2 separate regions of the Homo sapiens genome follow, and region 2 is linked to region 1. Evidence: promoter capture Hi-C in human tissues and cell types (Jung and others, 2019). All regions are on one chromosome and are shown on one strand. Each heading gives the region's core, a stretch centred on a gene start or on the middle of the fragment in contact. The rest is flanking DNA. Distances are from core to core; before and after follow the strand shown. Region 1 holds the start of DSCAM (DS cell adhesion molecule). Region 2 has its middle 89 kb from the start of DSCAM.

The links. Contacts are between HindIII fragments. The study calls those that stand out against the background at their distance.
Region 2: a fragment that was not itself captured here is called in contact with the fragment with the promoter of DSCAM in region 1 in 3 of the 25 tissues and cell types used here (H1 embryonic stem cells, IMR-90 fibroblasts and pancreas).

Annotation. Positions count from the first base shown.
Region 1 is chr21:40,844,045-40,849,033 of GRCh38, reverse strand. It overlaps DSCAM (DS cell adhesion molecule), which reads left to right and starts at 1,876. Exons shown (of 33, transcript NM_001389.5): 1 at 1,876-2,415. The coding sequence starts at 2,373. The HindIII fragment of the contact is 24,098 bases long and covers 1-4,989 here.
Region 2 is chr21:40,933,819-40,938,807 of GRCh38, reverse strand. No RefSeq gene overlaps it. Among named protein-coding and RNA genes, the nearest start is that of DSCAM, 89 kb to the right of the region's middle. RefSeq lists enhancers at 1,301-2,500, 3,416-3,917. The HindIII fragment of the contact is 8,381 bases long and covers 1-4,989 here.

The sequences.
Region 1 (4,989 bases), core at 627-3,126:
TCCCAGCATGGAGGTTGCAATCCCTGAGGGATCTCCTGTCCACTGTACATTGGGACAGTGGGCTGTGGGAGAGAGACAGTGGCTTCCCCACCCCCTAACTGTGGCTGGCCACAGCATGTGGGTGCAGCCAAGGGCAGGGAAGCAACTGGCAAGTGGAAGCCTCTTGTACTGCACTGAGTCACCTGGAAGGTCTGTGGGGTCTGTACAGGGGTGCATTCCCACGCCCAAGGAAGAGCAGCATGTAGCAGAAAACACCATGACTGGTTGAGAGAGGCAGGAAGAAAGGAGGAAGTGTTCTGTTTTAGCACTTGTTATGGTGCTTCTTTTTCATTTTGAGAAAGGAGCTCTCCATTTTCATTTTATAGTGGACCCCACAAATCATGTTTCCAGCCCTGCTCCCAAACTCAGTAACAGTTAACCACAGCCATCGCTAACTACAGTGACCATGTGCTGTCAACGGATGGAAAGATCTTCACACCTCTGTGAGTTAAGAACTGTGATAATTTCCAGTCTGCATATGAGGAAATTGAGGCTCGAGTCACATGCAGAAGCCCCACATCGGGGTAGTGGAGGAGCTGCAATTCGACCCTGGGTTTCCCTGACCCCAGTGCCTGGGCACCCTTGCAGGTGGCTAGTGTGCAAGTAAGAATTAATGAATAGGTCAACCAGCCAGATGCAGGGACAGAATCAGGCCCATCCCCTGCCTTCCTGGGTTGCATTTGGGAAGGACCAGGGACTGAGCACCCAGCATTTGCAAAGCCAGAGGATGCTGGTTCTGGTGCGTGGTACTGGGGGCTGGGCCTGCGCAGCCTGAGTGGGCGGCAGCACGTGATCACCTGCAGCTGCAGAGCCGTGGTGAGCCAGGCAGCATCACCGGCTCAGCTGACCCTTCCTGGTACACAGGGCCTGGCCATCTTGTGCCCAACCCTGGTAAAGCACCATTTTGTTTCTGCCTCACCATTTGCTTCTCCTGTGTTTTGTGAGCTGTCTGAGATGTGCATCATTCTTCTGTATTTGGAGGGGGACATGGAGCCCAGTTAGGATACCTAGTGCCTAGGAAAAAGCCTACTCAATTTCCCTTGAAAATGTCTCCCTTGACCCCCACCGAATGCTTTTTTTCAGTCCTGATTGTCCTGACTGTGAGCATTCCATCCTGGCTTCTACACTGGGGTGCATTCCAGCCCTGTCGGTCATTATATTGCAAAGTGATGGATAGATGTACGCCCTTGTGAGAGCTTTAATTTAAATATTATCATGACTTCAAGAATCATACAGAACATTCAGGAAATGTTAACATATTGACTTTTCACAGAAACGTGAAAGGGGCTATATGTTTGGGATTACTCAAATTATCAGCAATTTCAATCAGCTTTTTTATGCGCCATTCAGAGAGCAAAATTAGAAGTGCTTGTGTTTGCATTCTACCATGTATTCAAGATAATTAAAAATTAGCCCGTGAAATCATAGAGATCTTTACAGTAGCAGCAAGGATTTGGAAGGAGCATTTCCCTCTAAGCAAATGAACTGGACTTTTCTGAGAGTAAATACGGAATCGGAATCCAGCTGCACATTTTATTAAAACTACGAGCATTTCATGTTCACCTCTCCGTGGCTGGCCACCTTCCGCAATAGTCACCCCGGCCATCCCTTATTAGCAACCGGCAGGAAAATAACTAAAAATAAGCAGCTGTTGAAATGATTATTTAAGCCTCTAAGAAATTCCTCCTGATGACTGTGCGTGACTGTGCGGTGGCTGCGCTCTCCCCGGTCCTGCCTCAGTTCGGCTGCACGTCTCTGCTGCTGCTTTAAGACTGCAGAGCGCCCCAGCGGCCAGAGGCAGGGGAGGGGTCCCTGCTCGCCTCCGCGCTCGGCTTCACTCGCCCGGCTCGCAGGCAGGGAAGGTTGGCAGAGGGATCCATGTGACTGAGGCCGGAGCACGGCAAAGATGAGCCTGCCCGCCCGCCTGCTGCCTGGATGCGGAGGGTGAGGGCTGGCGCACGGGAGGCCGCTGGCTGCGCATTCTGGGCGCCGAGTGCCCGGGATGAGCTCACGCCCGCGTCTGCGGCTCTCTCCACCTGCCGACCTGCCGGGGGCCCACTGAGCTGACGGCGCACCTGGGCTCCGGCCGCAGCGTGGGGCGCGGCGCCCGGGAGCAGGTGTGCAGGAGCGCAGCGCGCGGCGAGCGCAGCCCTCGCTCCGGAGCCCGGCCGCGCCGCGTGCCCGGGCGGCTAGGCAGCGGCGGCGGCGGCGGCGGGCGGCGGGCGGGCGGCGGCCCCCGGGCAGGTGCCGAGCGGCGAGCGGAGCCGGGCCGGGCGGAGCGCGGGGGGCGAGGCCGGCGCGTCGCTCGCGGGAGGCCGGGGAGCGGCAGGGGCATGTGGATACTGGCTCTCTCCTTGTTCCAGAGCTTCGCGAATGGTGAGCCTTTCGGTTTGTGATGAATTTCGTTTCCTTATCATTGACCGGGGGGGCGGGGGGGTGGGGGGTGGCATTGGATGCATGGGTAAAGTCTTCTTTCTTTTTCCGCTTCATCTGTGTTTAAAATTTCGTGCTTTTATTTATTTTTTAAATATCATATTTATTTTTTGGGGGAGAAGAGGTGGCAATGGAGAGGCCCGGGAGAAATTGCTCTGTAATCATTGGAAGGCGCTTACCTAGCCAAGTGACAGCTCAGAGCCTAACTCCAGTACTAGAGAGCTGCCTCATTCAGAATAAACCAGGTTTGGTGACAGAAGGAGAGACAGGAAGATTGCCACTTTGAATATTACAACCTGGAAAGGGATGTGACATTCCAAGTGCACGCAAGTGGAGGGGTCAATGAGGAACATCTCCCTTCAGATTCAATGCTTTTTGAGATTTTTCAAACACGTAATTTCATGCTAGTACAATGTATCTCCAGCACCAAGGAGGGCTTTAAGAATGTTCTGTCCTTCTATGCACCCCGTGCTGCTTCATGCTCCTCACAGTCGTTTATGTAAAAATATGCACTGATAAGCATTACATCATCTGAAATGTTGACAAATTAAAAAAAAAAAAACACCTGTATAGTTGTAAAAATGAAATCAGTGAATATTGTAAATAGCATACATTTCCTCATGCCCAGCCAATATTATATTTTGAAATGATTTCTTCCTGGGTATTTAGAAAGCTATTGCTCTTGACTGAGTCAGACCCAATTAGTAAGTGTGACTGCACCTTAGGCTGCCTGTCACCGCATAAATATGAACTTACATGTATGAATGGCTTCCTCTCTTGTGGGAACCAGAGGAAATTGTCATCATTTGACATCGCCTGGGAGTAGCTACGGCTTAAATTCCCATTTCAAATTTTGGAACACACATCTGCATAAAATGTATAACCTACTGACAGTTGAAATTAAACCATTAAGCAGAATCCCCTAGCCAGAAGAGAGGAGAGAGAGAGAGAGAAAGAGAGGAGGGAGAGAGAGCGAGACAGACACAGAGACAGAGAGAGAGAGAGAGAGAGAGAGAGAGAGGAGAAGAAGAGAAGGTAAAAGAAGAGAAGAGAGGAAATCTGGCCCTTGTGAGAAAATACGAGAAGCAAAGGGGAGGCTCTAAGATTTTCCTGGAAGACACACAGGGAAGCTCTGTGTGTTGGCTGCAAGGCAGTGCATTTTCTTTGCCTACCTAGACAGTGCCTAAAGAATCAGCATACCAACAGGCCAGAAGAAATGCATGAGCATTGTCAATTTTTTAAAAAAACGGTGACTAAGAAAAGGTAGAGTTGAAAGAAGGTACTATCAAAATGAACATGAAAATGATACTTTGCTCTCCAGTATAACCTAAAGCAAAGTGTTTGAAACTTTCATTTTGAGATTTCCTAGCAGGAAAGAATTGCAACAAGTTCTGACAAGACACCCATCTTTCCCAGAGGGCACCATACCTGTCCTGTGTCCTCCTGGGAATTTCCCTTCAGGGACAGATGTGCTTAGGGAACATGCGGAGATGTGTCGGGGAAGTCAGCCCTTTCTGCTCTTCTGCTAATGCGACCTCCTAAGAAATGTAGAGATGCCTACACATGTGTTCCAAAGACACAGAGCCTTGACACCCTGTTTCGCCTGTCAGGGAGTACCTTTCTGAACTCCTTGGAAAGGCCTGGGTTATAAGAAGAAACAAAATTTGCACCCCATTGGGAAGTGTGTGTTTCAGGATGATGAAAGAGGCTGTGCTGGTTGTCAGTCAGCCAGTATTTATTTACAGTTTTAGCATTTTGTATGACAAAATGGTATGGAAGAATTTATGATACTGATACAGACTATTAGCCTCTGATACAGAGATGCTATATGTGTGTGTGACTTTTTTTCTGAATCAGCATTTTATAACTAAAATAAACAATCATAGAAATAATTATATATGGTAATACAATTATATGAAACCTCAAATATTCTGCAATATGAAAAATATATGCAAAAATTATGTAGGTACTCATATAGTGAGTTCTGCAAGTATTATTTTCAAGACTTTTAAAATCAACTGATAATCACCATTATTGTAATAAATATAGGTAGATTCCACAATATTAGACATAAACAGCAAACACAAATGAATATTTTACATTGCTGTATTACGTATTCTGATCCAATCTAGCAGAAGGCTATGGAACTGTCTTGTATAAAAATGCCCCTCTCTTTATATGATCAAGGATGAAAACATTAAAAGCCTGCTGTAAAGCTTTAGGATCTTTGAAGGGGGGAGGGGAAATCAGCTTTAAACAGTTTTCTAAGGTATGGTGTTCATTACATACTGGGGAAAGGATCATAAAATATATAGACATGTTGAAATAAAATAAGAATCCAGTTTGGAACTATGCCTGTTTGTAAGACCATATTTCAAAAATATAAGAGTAAATGGTTTCTACCTATCTGAATTAAACTTTAAAAAATTGAGAATATTTTTGTCAACAACTGTCATATTTTGTTATACCTCAACTTTGAAAAATTTCTGAATGTGTGTGATAAAAGATTGATGAATT
Region 2 (4,989 bases), core at 1,452-3,951, 89 kb before region 1:
GGATCAATTCACACGGGACAGGACAATGAATTAGTTGGGGAAGTGGAAAAGAAGAGACGGAAATAGTGCAAGCAGTATTAGGAGGAATTTGGGGGAGTTTGCAGAGAAAAATCAGAACTATCGTACTGCTTTATATATGATAGATACCAAGTATTGTGGGTTAAATTGTGGCCCCCAAAAGATCATAGTAATGGAACCTGAAAATGTGACCTTATTTGGAAAAAGGGTCTTTGCAGATGTAATTAAGAATATCCAGATGAGATCATCCTGGCTTAAGGGGGCCCTTAAATGAAAGACAAGAGAAGGGGAGAAAACAGACAGATGGGGGAGAAGAATATGTGAGGGCCGAGGCAGAGGTTAGAGTGAAGCATCTTCCAACCAAGGAACACCAAGGGCTTCCGGCAGCAACTGGAAGGTATGAGAAAAGGAGGGCATTGATCATCCCTCAGTGACTCCAGAAAGAACCAGCCCTGCCAACCCCTGACTTCAGACTTCTGGCCTCTAGAACTGTGAGGGAATAAATAGCTCTTGTTGTAAGACCAAGGTAATGATAAGCTGTTAAAACAGCCTGAGGAAATGAATGTACCATGTGTAGGGTGGAGAGTGGGATGGTTAGGTGCCAGGGGGTAGAGGGAGAAGGAGAGAGAAAGAGAGAAAGAAGTAACAAAGAGATGCAAGAGAGAGCTCACCTTTAAAGGAAACTTTAGTAAATACATTTTTTTTTCAGTGACAGACTGGGTGAGGAAAATATGGTACATATTTATCATGAGCCATATACATACATATCTACACATATATGTATACCATATACATATCTACACATACGTATATGTATACACATATGTATATGTGTAAATATGTATATATGTATGCCATATAAATATATATGTGTATATATGTATATATGTGTATGTGTCTATGTGTATACCATATACATATGCACCATGCAGCCATAAAAAATAATGAGATTATGTCCTTTGCAGGGAGATGGATGGAGCTGGAGGCCATTATCCTTAGCAAACTAATACAGGAACAGAAAACCAAATACGATGTCCTCACTTATAAGTGGGAGCTAAATGATGAGAACACATGGACACACAGAGGGGAACAACACACACTGGGGCAGAGGAGGGTAGAGGGTGGAGGTTGGGAAGAGGGAGACAATCAGGAAAAATAACTAATGGGTAATAATAGGCTGGGTGATAATAATACCTGGGTGATGAAGTAATTTGTAAAACAAACCCCAATGAGACAAGTTTACCTATGTAACAAACCTGCATGTGTACCCCTGAAATTAAAAGAAAAGTTACAAAAATTATATATATAATTATATTTAAAAACATATTGATATATTATAAAAATATGTATATATTTAGACATGTATACATATATATATTTTTAAAGTTTCTACTGTATACCTGGCTGTCCTAGGCACTTGGCTGTCATGGAGCTTATATTCTACTTTGAATGTCAAACTCTCCTAGGGTGAAAGTTCACCGGGGACCACCTGTGGTTCTGAATTCAGGTACTTTCCTGCCCCATTTCCCTCAGAGTGACCATCAGCCTAGAGGCAGCAAAACTGTGCTGTTGGACAGAGGAGCAGTTGCCCGAGGTGACCCAGGTGAGCCATGGAGGTTCGTGAGTCACTCAGCAGAGCTAGCAGAAAACTGTGAAAATGGGTCTGAGCTAGGCATGACAATTCCCTCAAGGACGCACTGTTCAGAACTGCACGCATCAGAAGGAAAACCAAAGACACAACATGTTACGTGAATTCCCCGAAATGAGAAAGGCTGAGTAACTTCCTTGAGAAACTGCCACCTGGAATTAGGAGTTAACCTAGTCTCCATGGACACCCAATTTCTTAAGGAATTTGAGTTGAGCCACTCCTGGATAGACAAAGGCGCCTCCCAGGCACTGAGGCTTGGTTTCCTCTTCCGGAATCACTGATTTGCCATTGGAATGTTATGAGCTCATGGAAGCAGGTGGCAGGGGAGGAGCGGAGGCCACTGGACAGCACAGCGGAGGTTGCAGTGAGCTGAGATCACGCCATTGCACTCCAGCCTAGGCAACAAGAGCGAAACTCCATCTCAAGGAAACAAACAAACAAACTCCAAAACCAACCAACCAACCAAACAAAAAACCAAAGGAGTCAAAAAGTGGAGCCCAGTTCCTAGAGAATTTGGATCATAAAGCTTTAGCTAATATGAGGAAACCCTGATGCTCTTATTTACCTCTGTGCATCTCAGCAGTCCTTGTCATGCTACTCCTGTTAATTTCTCTTCAGATGTAAAAACAGATTTTCCAAGATTTCCCCCACTTCTCTGCTTTCTTCTAAAAAACATGTATGTTTGGTGGTCTCCAGTTCTCTTTTGGAACTGTACTTCAGTTAATCTTGTTCATGGCAGATCTGAGAGCTCCTGCCTGTTGCCAATGACTGTGACTCGCTTGGCAGAAAGGAAAGCTGATCTCAGAGCGCTTCAGCTGCACCACAGATAATGTGCTCAAGTTAAAAGCAATGGAAAGGTCATAACATGTCATATCTGGAGCTGGAATGTTTCACAATTTATTGAGGATTACTTATTTTATTTTATTTTTTTCTCCATAAGCACAAATATTGCCAAGAAGAGTATGAGCTACAATTTTATGTCATGGATAAATTATTTCTTCCACATCGCAATTAATTTTTATTTAATTCATTTTCATTCATTAATTTATTCATTACACAAGTATTTCTTGAGTTCCTACTATGTGCCAAGCTCAACTGAGTTGGTTGATGGAAAATATGCCATCTTGTGCTTTTGGCCATGGACTCTGTAATTTAGTACTTTCTAGTTCTCTTCGCCCATTTCAGTAGATAGTCTCATTTAATTTTGTATTTATCACAAAGTGTATTGTTAAAATCTGAATTCACTTATATGTTTCTAAAGCAATAGTGATAATAGTTACTATAATCATAAGATGTCAAGCTGATTTAATATATTTAAAGATCAACTTGCTAACCAATTTCAATGCCAACATACTTTAAATCACTGATATAAAATGGTTGTAGGAGACAAGAAAAATTTAAAAAGAGGGATAGGAAACTTAGGTACACTGTGCCCATCAGTGACCTTGGGAACCTGTTATAAAATCTTTTACATTTTGAAAGGGTGAAATGAGTGGTTGGAGAGAGACATTTAAAAAAAAACATATGCAGGTATAACAACACATTTAGCAAACTAATTGGGGCCTGTTTGCAGTAATGAACCAACCTGTTGTCCATCACGAATGCACCAGTCAATGTTGACAATGGTGACATTGTGTGTTCCCAGGACTCAGAAGGTTGTGATGTGAAAATGATCCTCCAGTCAGCTCTGTTAGCCTTGATTCCAAATTGAACTCTTAGAGAAATATTTGGTTAGACCTGAGCTTTCAAAATAAAGCAAATGCACTTAAAAAAATCAAAATAACTTACAGACAATGGTTTTACAGAACCATGTGGATTAAGTGGATTTAACTGTAATTTTAGACAAAATAAGGTTAGTTTCAGGAGACTTCACATCAGGAGTTTTAAAAAGTTAAACAAAGCACACCAATGCAATGGAATTCCATGCTGGCTGCCTGGTGGTAAAACGAATAAGCAGCTTCCTAGATCAGCACAGTAATCAGTGGCCATTAGGCTAAAAGGAATCAAAAGATACAGAGTTCACCTAGAGTTTTTATCAGCGTTTAGTGGTTTTTGACTGAAATTACCTTATATTAGTAAAAAAAAAAAAAAAAAAAAAAAAGAAAAAAGAAAGAAAAGAAAAATCCAGATTTGCATTAGGTCTTCTAGTGGAAAATCAAAGCAAGTGTTGAACAATACAGGTCAGGAAGAAATAAAACAAAAAATCTACAAAACAAAAACAGGATCACTTTGCCGAAATAATTCAGATTAACCACAAATACCAGCGTCGCTGGGCAATTACTCCATTCCAGGCAGTGGCGGTTGGATCTTTATGCATGGCCAGATTTCTACTGAGTTTAATATTTCTCTAACAGCCACGTAAAATAGACATTCTTCAGCTAGGAGTTTGAAGGCTCCTTAGTGTAGCCTCGCAATTGCCCACCCAATCCTTTCTACCTCTGGGATGCACATGACCAGCAGGTAAGTAAGTCTCCTTCCTGGCCTTTCCTCTCCTTCCTTTTTCCTTTCTGTTTTTTCTCTCACCTGAGCACCTACCACCTTCACCAGGACGGTAAGCCCTTGGTTCACACTAAATCTGGACACCCCTCTCTCCTTAAGTCTGACTCCTCATGAAGGATGCGTACTAACTAGTTTCTTGTTGCTGCTGCCACAAATCACCACAAACTTTGTGGCTTAAAACAATACAAGTTTATTCTCCCGTAGTTTTTGGAGATCGGAAGTCTAAAATGAATCTTAGGGGGCTGAGATCAAGGAGTTGGCAGGCGTGGTTCCTTCTGGAGCTCTGGGGGAACCTGCTGCCTTGCCTTTTTCGGCTCCTGGAGACTACTGCCTGCATTCCTGGGCTTAGGCCCCCTTTGCATCACTCTGAGCGCTGCTTCTCTGGCCACATCTCCTACCGACCTCTGGCATCTGTTTTGTAAAGACCCTGGTGATTCCATGGGGCTTCCCTGCATAATCAGAGATCATCTCGCCAACAGCAGATCCTTAATTCAGTCACATCAGGCAGTCCTTTTCACTATATAACGTGACATATCCACAGGGGATTGGGGTGAAGGCATTTGCTGGGGGGGATTATTCCACCAACTACAGGGCCTCACCAAATGCTCCACCATGTGTCTACAGCATCCTCTTTGCTGTCTGGCTCTTATGACGGCAACCGTGTTACAGCATTTTTAGCTATTTGCTAAAAATTGACTCATTTGCCTGAGAAATCCCAGCCTTTGCCATCTGTGCGGTCCACTTGCTTGCCCTTGGATCTATTTCTGGGCTGTTTTATGCTCTGCTCCTTAACACAGTGGGGCTGGCCCCATAACCAGGCCTGC